2 separate regions of the Homo sapiens genome follow, and region 2 is linked to region 1. Evidence: promoter capture Hi-C in 16 types of primary human blood cells and fetal thymus (Javierre and others, 2016). All regions are on one chromosome and are shown on one strand. Each heading gives the region's core, a stretch centred on a gene start or on the middle of the fragment in contact. The rest is flanking DNA. Distances are from core to core; before and after follow the strand shown.

What was found. Contacts are between HindIII fragments. The CHiCAGO score rates a contact against its expected background, and 5 or more counts as called.
Region 2: a fragment that was not itself captured here is called in contact with the fragment with the promoter of BCAP29 in region 1 in 1 of 17 cell types (erythroblasts); the score reaches 7.7 in erythroblasts.

Annotation. Positions count from the first base shown.
Region 1 is chr7:107,578,450-107,583,454 of GRCh38, forward strand. It overlaps BCAP29 (B cell receptor associated protein 29), which reads left to right and starts at 1,797. Exons shown (of 8, transcript NM_018844.4): 1 at 1,797-1,852; 2 at 2,310-2,415. The coding sequence starts at 2,324. It overlaps DUS4L-BCAP29 (DUS4L-BCAP29 readthrough), which reads left to right. Exons shown (of 13, transcript NR_163941.2): 7 at 2,310-2,415. DUS4L (dihydrouridine synthase 4 like) reads left to right here. Exons shown (of 8, transcript NM_181581.3): 8 at 1-74. RefSeq lists a silencer at 1,655-2,144 and an enhancer at 2,235-2,304. The HindIII fragment of the contact is 6,036 bases long and covers 1-5,005 here.
Region 2 is chr7:107,898,699-107,904,177 of GRCh38, forward strand. DLD (dihydrolipoamide dehydrogenase) reads left to right here. Exons shown (of 14, transcript NM_000108.5): 3 at 3,040-3,119; 4 at 3,627-3,695; 5 at 4,780-4,849. Among named protein-coding and RNA genes, the nearest start is that of DLD, 10 kb to the left of the region's middle. The HindIII fragment of the contact is 3,883 bases long and covers 1,954-5,479 here.

The sequences.
Region 1 (5,005 bases), core at 547-3,046:
TGTTATAAGGAAACAATTATGTAAAACTGTTTAATTCACGTTTGGGAATATTGAATGAATCCATTTTAACATAAGCACTGTGGTGCCATCTTTTTTCTCAGTACATTCTGTTTTCACTTTTCAGTTAATGCATTTTTTTTTTTAAAGATAACTCGCTGTTTCATTTTCTATGAATACTGTACAAAATAGGGAGGTATGGTCAGAACTCTGAATTGAATTACCCTAGTGTTGTGAGCACAGCATCATCACTAGAGTAATGTGCTCGGTGTTTGGAAGGAACCAGCGTGGATGGGCAAGAAGTTCTAACACTTTTGATTAAAAGTAACTTCCTGGCCGGGCGCGGTGGCTCACGCCTGTGATCCCAGCACTTTGGGAGGCCAAGACGGGCAGATCACGAGGTCAGGAGATCAAGACCATCCTGGATAACACGGTGAAACCCCGTCTCTACTAAAAATACAAAAATTAGCTGGGCGTGGTGGCGGGCGCCTATAGTCCCAGCTACTCAGGAGGCTGAGGCAGGAGAATGGTGTGAACCTGGGAGGTGGAGCTTGCAGTGAGCTGAGATTGCGCCACTGCACTCCTGCCTGGGCAACAGAGCAAGACTCTGTCTCAAAAAAAAAAAAAAAAAAGTAACTTCCTGGCTAGGCGCGGTGGCTCACACCTGTAATCCCAACAGTTTGGGAGGCCAAGGCAGGCAGATCACTTGAGTCCAGGAGTTCGAGACCAGCCTGGCCAACATGGTGAAACCCTGTCTCTGCTAAAAATACAACAATTAGCTAGGCATGGTGGCAGGCGCCTGTAATCCCAGCCACTCTGGAGACTGGGGCCAGAGAATCACTTGAACCTGGGAGGCAGAGGCTACAGTGAGCCGAGATCGCACCACCACAATCCAGCCTGGGCGACATTGGGAGACTCCATCTCAAAAAAAAAAAAAAAATCTTCCTTATGGTTAATTTATGTTCAAAGTCTATTTTTCTATTTTTTCTGTTACATGTGATCCAGAATATTAGTGATAAATTAAGAAAAAGCACCAACTTAAATGTGTTTTTGAATGTTTTATATTCTATAATTATCAATTTTCAACATTTATTTACTATTCCCCAAATAATTGTTACCAGGATAGTACTTTTATTAAATTCCTGATACGTTGTCAATATTGAAAAAACTCAACAACTTAAATGTACACGCACAGTTTGAAAAGCTGGAAAATAGTGAAAGAATATCCCCATACCCACCTTTCGTACCAGTCCCCAAACATCACGGTAAAGTTTACTGTCTCTTCCCAGCCCATGGACGGGAACGGGAACGCCTACGGAATATGTTGTGACATACAGTTGATCCTAGGTTCTCCAGAACAAAATGCTGCACGACCACCTCATCCTGGCCCTTTATTAAATATAGCTTAATTCTGGACACAAACAGTTCCCACCATGAAGAGAGAGTAGGTGACCGGAAAGGAGTGCGTCTTAAGCGCGTTCGCTGAATTTGCACCACCCAATCCAGCCCCGCCGCCCGGCGCCGCTCCTTAGACCTGGACCCCGGCACCCTCCCGCCGGGGCCGCACTTAGCAGTGGAAAGTCTGTCCTCCTGAAGAAGTTGCGCTCCGACCTCCAAGCATCAGGTCAAAAGTCTAACTCATTCTCTGACCTGCCGCCAATTAGAAAACAACTGTTGCCAATAAACGTGGTCGCGCCGCCTGTGACCTCAGCCGGGACGGACCCGCGGGCGGGAGCCTGCGGGGCGTGAGGCGGGGTGGGGCCCTGGCTCCCCTCCCCCGCCCAGCCGCGGCGTCTGACGTCCCGCGCGTCGGCGGCCGCGGAGCAGCGCAGGGAGCCAGGCGGGCTGCCGGCGGGTAAGGGCTTCTGCGACCCGGGGACCCGTGGGGCGTAGGCCGCGGAGGGAGAGCGCCGCTGCCTGGTCTGGAGAACCCCGCGGAGCTGGCCTGGCCCGACCCGGCCCGGCCCGGTCCGCGGCGCGGTGGTCGAGGGCCCGCGGCGCCTTCTGGGAGCGGGAGGGCCGGGAAGCCGGGCGTTGGTGGAGGGAGGCGTTGGGCTTCTGTCGCCGCGAAGCTGGCGGAAAAGGCAGTGGCCAGCGAGCCGCCTCGCCAGTTCCCACGACTCCCAGGGAGGTGGCGACACCCGCTTCCCGGGCCACCCTTTTCCCCTTCCTGACCGGGGTCCGTGCTTGCCTTCCCAGGTGGGGGAAGGTGGAACACTGTCCATCCCCTGGACAAAAACGCTGCGCCTCGGGGCCTTGAACCCGGTTTTGTTTGAAAGGAAGCAAGAGAAAATAAGTGTTTTTCCATTTAGGTGTGAAGAAAAAAATGACACTCCAATGGGCTGCAGTGGCAACCTTTCTTTATGCCGAAATAGGACTCATTTTAATCTTCTGCCTACCTTTTATTCCTCCTCAGAGGTAGGAAACCTTCAAATCGTTAACTAATAAATATTGGATCGCTCTTAATGTAAAATGGAAAAAGTTTTCTGAACATTAAAAAGTTTCGAAAGTCTTTGAAAATAAACTCACCTAACGAATTAGGTAGTATATAATGACAATATTAAAATAACATTTTATATAAAACTCTGTTACGTGTACAAGTGAAATAACTTTTTCTTCCCTTCTAAAAGAAAAGGCGCCTATACTTTTGATTCTGTTGATTACAGATATAATAAAGCAACGATTATACTTTTAACACCTGCCCTGCCTTGTCTCAGGTTTTACCTTTGTTTTATTGCCCTGAATTGGAGCCATGAACTAAATAAATATAAGTGGATAAATCATGTTTACAGTACAGCATGGGTGTAAAAGTGTTTCACTGAGGCACTGGAACAGCAATTTAGAAACCAAAGCCAATAAATTATTCTTAGTTTTCGCCTTTGTAACCGTTAGTTTCATTAATGACAATTTTACTACTTTTGATTTCACATAAAATTAATGAATGTATATTAAAAGTGCTGAATGTGAAAAGTATCACAACCATGTATTAGCATTAGTTCGTTAGTGACGGAACTTCTAAGGTCTTGAAGAACCAAGTACAGTGTTTCAAGCCAAGCAGTGGTTCATTTTACCCTTGCAGTAATCTACTTTTTAGTCGTTTAATTTTAGATCCAGAAATTTGATAGTATGAATGGGGAAATACACATGTAATAAAAATATTGCAAGATATTTGTTCATACTCCTGGCATAAAAGAAAGTATTTCATAAGTGAGATCCTAGAGATAACCCACTAAAGTGTATTAAAATCCCAGGACTGGGAGAAACTTCTTAAAGTTTCACCTTAGCTCAGGGTCCAGATAGTCTTTCACAACTCCTAACTTGCTCCTTACCTGCCTGGATTTCTGCTCTCTTCTGTCCTTCTCTATCAGCTAAGCTAAGCTCAGTAAGTTGTTTCTTACTAAAGAAAAAAAATTGAATCATACTGTAGGGTCTTTGATCTTATTTGATCCATTCCACCCATGTTCTATATATCACGTACTGAGACCCAGGAGGGCAAGTAGCCTACGGTTACCTAGCTGGTAAGTGACAGATTCTAGAAAAAAATCTGGCTCTTAGTCCAGTGTTCTTTCTACTCCATCATGCTGCCTCTCATCCTGTAGGTTTTGTTTCAAACTCAGTAACACCCTGTTTTGCTTTTTGGTAATATTTGCAATGATAGAATCCTATATACTCAAGAGAAAGAAAGATTTTGTATATAAACATCTAATTTATAGATAAGGCTTAAGGGTTTGCAAAGAAGGAAAAATTGTCAGTTGATCTTTACTCCATCAGAGTGATCTGTAACTTATGGATCAATATTTTTCTTCCTGCCAAATAAAAATTTTACCCATCCTGATCAAGTAGCTATTAGATAGATGTGTGTATATTTGCATATGATATATAAATGTGTTCTCATGTACAGATATAAAGAAAATACGGTATGTATGCACGCAGATCATTTACAATATGTCCTATGTGTGTATCCACATCTTTTTATCTTTTATATTTGTATCACCATAATCTTTAAAGAAAATATTTCATCATTTAGTCTCTATTATTTTCTTACATAACCCAGTGGTTAAAGGCACATGCTCAGAAATCAGGTCACCTATAACTGCATGTTACTAACCTTGGGCATGCTCTTGATCCTCTCTGATCTGTTTCCCCATCTGTAAAATGGAGGTAGTACTAGTGTCTACCCCTTACGGTAGTTGTTGTAATTAAATGAGATAAAACATGTAAAAGTACTTAGAACCATAATATAGTGAGAACACAATAGGTATTAGCTATGATAAGGTGCTCAACTGCTAGTTGTTCCCTATGAGAGATCTCTTACATTCCCTTTTACACCACACCAAACCTTGAAGAAATAAGTAAATTTACATTTGGACCTAGATCAAGGTATTACCACTTATGTTCTCTTAAAAATATAAAATTTTATATTGCATAATTTAAATATTGGCTGTATAAAATGCTTGGACTTGGAAGCAGAGACAAAATGAACCGATTCATCTGTATGAATCTCCCTCAACCCACCAATTTCAAGTAGTTACTTGAAGTTGTCCTAATCTTAAATCTTAAATGTGTCCTAATCTTAAAGTGAAACTGTTTTTTTCAAGTTGTAAGTGCTTGAAGCTATTTAAGTGCTTACTACATTTTTCTGCCTCCTTTCAACTAAAGTGTTACTCATTTAAATTGCCCTTGTACAAAGTTTGTTACCTTTCCTATTGCGTGATGGATTATTTTGCCACTTTGCCATTTATAACCCATGCTTTCTTACCACTGTCTTTGTTTATACTGTTCAATCCACCTAGACTATTTCCCCATCTCATTTCCTCTATGTTCACATCTTTATCTGTAGTAATTACATGGTTTTATATATATATATATAGTGTGTGTGTGAAAATTATCAAGCTACATATTTAAGATTTTTTCAATTTATGTGTATAATACCTGGGTAGTTTTTATAATTCCCTCATGGTTAAAGTAGAGAAACTTTTAGTTGGAGTATACGTTAAAATTGTACTAT
Region 2 (5,479 bases), core at 2,645-5,144, 320 kb after region 1:
TCCTGCCTCAGCCTCCCCAGCAGCTGGGACTACAGGTGCCTGCCACCACGCCCGGCTAATTTTTTTTGTATTTTTAGTAGAGACGGGGTTTGGTCTTGATCTCCTGACCTCGTGATCCGCCTGCCTCGGCCTCCCAAAGTGCTGAGGATTACAGGTGTGAGCCACCACACCCGGCCCTGATTTTTTAACTTTATGTATGGGACTCAACCTGTGAAATTATTCTTGACAAGGAGAGGGTGAGTCAGAATCATGTGTTATCAGCTTTCATTTATATGCATCCTTTGGTACAGGTGAGAGGTAGATGATTTGTTTTTCTGACATTTTATTATGAAAAATTATAAGCATTTAGAAAATTATAAGAATTTTACATTGAACACCCATAGTTTTCTTCCATTAACATTTTCTGTGCTTACAGTACCACATATGTGCTCATTCGTTTATCCATCAGTGCAGACGTGTGTATACTTCCCCTAAATACTGGTTTGTTTTTGAAAGTTTGTTCCTGGCTTATACCCTCCTGTATTCTCAGTTGACAGATCTTTACATAAAGAGTCTGCTTTTTTCTCATTTTTGTGCATCTTAGCACTTTAGTGGTATTGTAATGGAATATTACATCTAGTATGTACAGTGAGAGAGGAGCTCTTGAATTTTTGGTATTTTCTGAAGTTTAAAAAAAAACACCTAAGATTACATAGTGAATAGGGAAGTAAAACCCAAGGTTTTTGGCTATTATCTTTTATCTCTTGTTTACTTCTCCTGACCTTACTAAAACAAGTTCTTTTCCAAACCAAATTTATTTATCATTTTAGTACCATGGACCTACTATAAGAATTGTTACATATCAGTGATTAAAAGTATATGCTCAAAAATACATATACTTAAAATCTAAAATATTTAATTCAGTTTTATTGTCATTAAAAGGGTTTTTGGAGAATTATAGCAGTAATATATGTTATAAATATATATGCTCATGTAAGAGTGAGAAAAGAATATAAAATATGGCAAAAATTGAATTTTATAAAAACTTTCCTAGAAGAAGGATTGGGAGGACCTATAAACAGTTCTCTCTGGGCTGTATGGCAATGTGGATGGGTTGTTTTTTTTTTAATTTTGCTTTAGTGTATTTAAATTTATTCAGTAAACCTAAATTTTTAATCAGAAAAGACATTAAAAATTCAGCAAAGAAACCTGTTTTGTAGCTTGTATTTACATTACTCTGAAATTAAAAATTAGAACCCATTTAAGGGATGTTGTGTAGATCGTCATTTGGTTCAAGATTTGAAAATAAAAATACATTTTATTAGATACTTAATTCTGAACCGAAATCAGTGAACCAAGCAGGGTGGCTAAAAAGCACAGATGGATCAGTAAAAATTGAAGCAATTTTTCATGTATTGAAATGACTATACATATTTTTTCATGTATTATCTCAATTATCATCTGCTATAACCAAAGAGAATCTAGTATTTTCATTTATTCAACAGGAGGGATTCTTAGATTTTGTGGATAATTGGGCTGAGTAACTTAGTTATCCACCAACACAGAGGTTCTGTGATTCTGTTCAGGCCAGCAAAGGTTTTTTGAATGATCCTACTCTAGGGATGTGTGTTTTTGGGGAGAGGGGGTGATGCAAATTAAAATAGTCTTCTTTGTAGGTCAGAATATAGCTACTATGTATAGAATACTTATTATGTATGCTATAGGTACTATGCTAAATTATTTACATACATTATTTTATTCTGTTATCACCCTATGAAGTAGGTTTTTTTTGTGGTCTTTCTTTTGCCAGGTATGGAAACAAAGATGAAGCAGGTTAAATTACTCACCTAAGGTCACATAGGTAGTGATTATAAAGCTTGATTATTGCTCTCTGGAATTTTAGTTTATGATGGTTAAAACTGAGGAATGGAATAGTATTGAATAATGGAAAGACCACCGGAAGTAGAGTCAAAAAGCTTAGTTTGTCTCTGCAACTCACTTGCTGGTTAACCTTAGACAAGTTAATTGACCTCTCTGAACTTCTTGTTTATTCTGTGAAATGTCTTATTTATGACATCTTTATCTTCCTCATAGGAAATTCTGAGACTCAAACATGATAATATATGTGAATATGTGTTATGAATTGCTAAATGCTAGACTAGTTGGGGTTGTCAGGACAGTGGAAGGGGAAGAAAAGGGAGACTGTTTCCTAACTCTTAACAGTCACTGTTACTTTATTTGAAGTTGGATTGAGAAGAATGGGAGTAATTGGACTTACTTGCACATTTGTATTACAATTGTTAAACTCCTAAGGATACTGATCAAAATTAATTTTCAATTTTTTATCTTTATTTGAAAAATGGCCACAATAGTTAATTGAATATTCTGGTTAGCCTATTATCTTAAGGTATGTAAAAATTATCAATATGCAAGTACAAAACATATTTGTTAAATATTACATAGAAGCTGTTTTTTCCCTCATATTTCAGAAGTTAAGGACCTGAAAAAGGTAATAGGTCTTAAATTTATTGGAAATACTAAAGCATTATATAAAATTATCTTATTTAATTCTAACATCAATCATTGAAGGCAGTGTTTTCATCCCCATATTACAGAAAGGTTAAGTCATTGGGTCAAGTTCATACAACTACTCATTGGCCGTGCTGAGATATGAAGCCCAGAATGTCAGATTCCAAAGCTCAGGCTCTTTGCTTCATACATACTTGTCTTCCAGTATCACTAAATTCCGTCAGTTATTAAATCAATAGAATTTAGGAAGGTCAGTGAATACAATGTGAGTGTTACAGAACTCAGTTGTGTTTCTGTATGTTGTAATGAATAGAAAATAATAGAAAATGAAATTTGAGTATTTATGCCATTTTTCAGTAGCATCAAAGAGCATCAAGTAGTAGTAATAAAATAGTGCAGAAACTATGTAGAAAATGCTGATTTGTACTGTAAGAGGTTTAAGTATCGGGTTATTTGTTTGCTCTTCCAAAGAGCTCTTTTTGGTAAATATTAAGCAATTTACTATTTTATATCAATTTGCTTTTATCGTAGTTGATGCTGATGTAACAGTTATAGGTTCTGGTCCTGGAGGATATGTTGCTGCTATTAAAGCTGCCCAGTTAGGCTTCAAGGTAAGGTTTGAACTCAAACTAAGTATTGATTTATTTTAATTTGGGAAGGGTTGATCATATTTATAAAGTACTTTGCAGGCAAAAACATGGTAAATACTTCCTTAACTCTATAAATTACTTGTAAGCCTGAGACTAATAAAGATTAGGTTCATTTGGTTGTAGTATTCTCTTGGAATGGAAAGTGAAATCTATTAGTTTTCTTCTCTTCCCAGTACTTTTCATTTTGGCATCTAATCACACTTTGGAAGATACAGTGATAGAACTAAAAGCATATATTTGGTAATGTTAAGCACACAAAAATATCTTTTAGAATAATTCACTTTTGGGTCAGCCCAAAAGTGTTTATTATTATTCAAATGATAAATTATAAAGGACTATATATTTTAGTCTGTGAAAACATAGCCCGAATAGCTTGTTTTGTAGAAGAATTAAGACATATATTTGGAATTTTAGTGATCTGAAACATTGAGGTTATGTGCAGTTAAATAATGTTTTCTTTGGTTGTAGACAGTCTGCATTGAGAAAAATGAAACACTTGGTGGAACATGCTTGAATGTTGGTTGTATTCCTTCTAAGGTGAGCATGTGTTTTGTACAGCACAGAGATTGTTTTTGGCTAGCAACCAACTAGAAGGATGGATTGAGACTAGATTAGACAAATACACTTGTTAAAAAACAATCCAAGTTGTGGCACATTTCACACAGAGAAAAAAAAGAATGATAAAAAACACACTTCTCTTTTGTAAAACTTAAAGAGTGCTGTCACTAGTCTGCCACACATTCCTGAAATAACTTCCTTGTCTCAGAATGCCTAGCTTTCCATTCAAACAGACTCTGATGTTCTAGTTTTTTCTCTTTATCTTTCCTTCACCAGTGTAACAGATAATAGATAGTAAATTGTTCTTTTAGGTCCTTTTTGTATGTAAACATGACTGCCTTTTTCACCTGCCACCCTGAAGTGTGTACTTATGCCTTTACTTTTAAAGAAAGTAAAAATGTCTTTTTCATTCTTGTTTGTTGAATGTTTTTCACATCATTATTGTTTGTCTTTGATTAATAAGAGAAACTGAATTGGTGTAGTGCCATATACTATTCCATGTAGAGAATGCCATGTCTTTTTTTTAACTTCTTTTTAAATTTTTATTGTAAATTGACAAATTACAATTGTATATATTTATGGCATACAAAGTGGTGTTATGATTTATGACTATAATGTGGAATAATTTAGTCAAGTTAATTAACATATTCATTACCACAGTACTTATCATTTTTGTGATGAGAACATTTGAAAGAGAATATCGGCCGGGCGCGGTGGCTCACGTCTGTAATCCCAGCACTTTGGGAGGCCGAGGCGGGTGGATCACCTGAGGCTGGGAGTTTGGGACCAGCCTGACCAACATGGAGAAACCCCATCTCTACTAAAAATACAAAATTAGCCAGGCGTGGTGATGCATGCCTGTAATCCCAGGGACAATTGCTTGAGCCCGGGAGGCGGAGGTTGCGGTGAGCTGAGATGGCGCCATTGCACTCCAGCTTGGGCAATAAGAACGAAACTCCGTCTCAAAAAATGAAAAGAAAGACTATCATTTCATAAGTGCTTTTTGATTATTTGAAGTCTGTTTATGAATATTTGATAATTTGATCTTTTTAATTTCCTTTAGGCTTTATTGAACAACTCTCATTATTACCATATGGCCCATGGAAAAGATTTTGCATCTAGAGGAATTGAAAGTAAGTATACTTTTCATGCTTAATGATATTACCAGACTGCTTGACTTGGCTCTTCTGTCTAAAGACTTAAATGTGTCTAACGTACGCATAATAGATGTTTAGTGAAGGAAGAGTAAAATAAATAATCTAAAAAATGTGGAGAGATTTACTTAAAAAAGAAGGCCTAAATCCAGATTTCTCCCAGCCAAGTATAACCAAGCCTAACCCTGCAAATCCAGATTTCTACCATTATATCTTCTGTTCCTTTGCCAACTTTTTCCTGAGGTTTGCCTTTATGTGTTTTTGAAGAGTCAGTTTTCATTTCCTAAAATCTGGAAATCACTGAGAAGGCTGGATTCCTGAGTACTATGGGGAGATAGAGGAAGGAAGGAAGGCCCACTTAAGCTGTTGATAGTAGAAAAATTAGAGGAGAGAAAGAGTGAGGCATAGCGGAAAAGGAAGAGGACATTTCATAACGTATCTTGTCTCCTGACATACTTTTTGAGCTGTTTTAATCTTTTGTCTCCAATTATTGTTGTTGTTAGATACTTCCAGAAAGGTAGTCTCTTCTGGGCAGGACCTAGTCATAACCTTGGGTTGTTACTTTTCCTTCATTTGTTTCTTTACAGAGGTAGGTTTGAGGGGCTACTT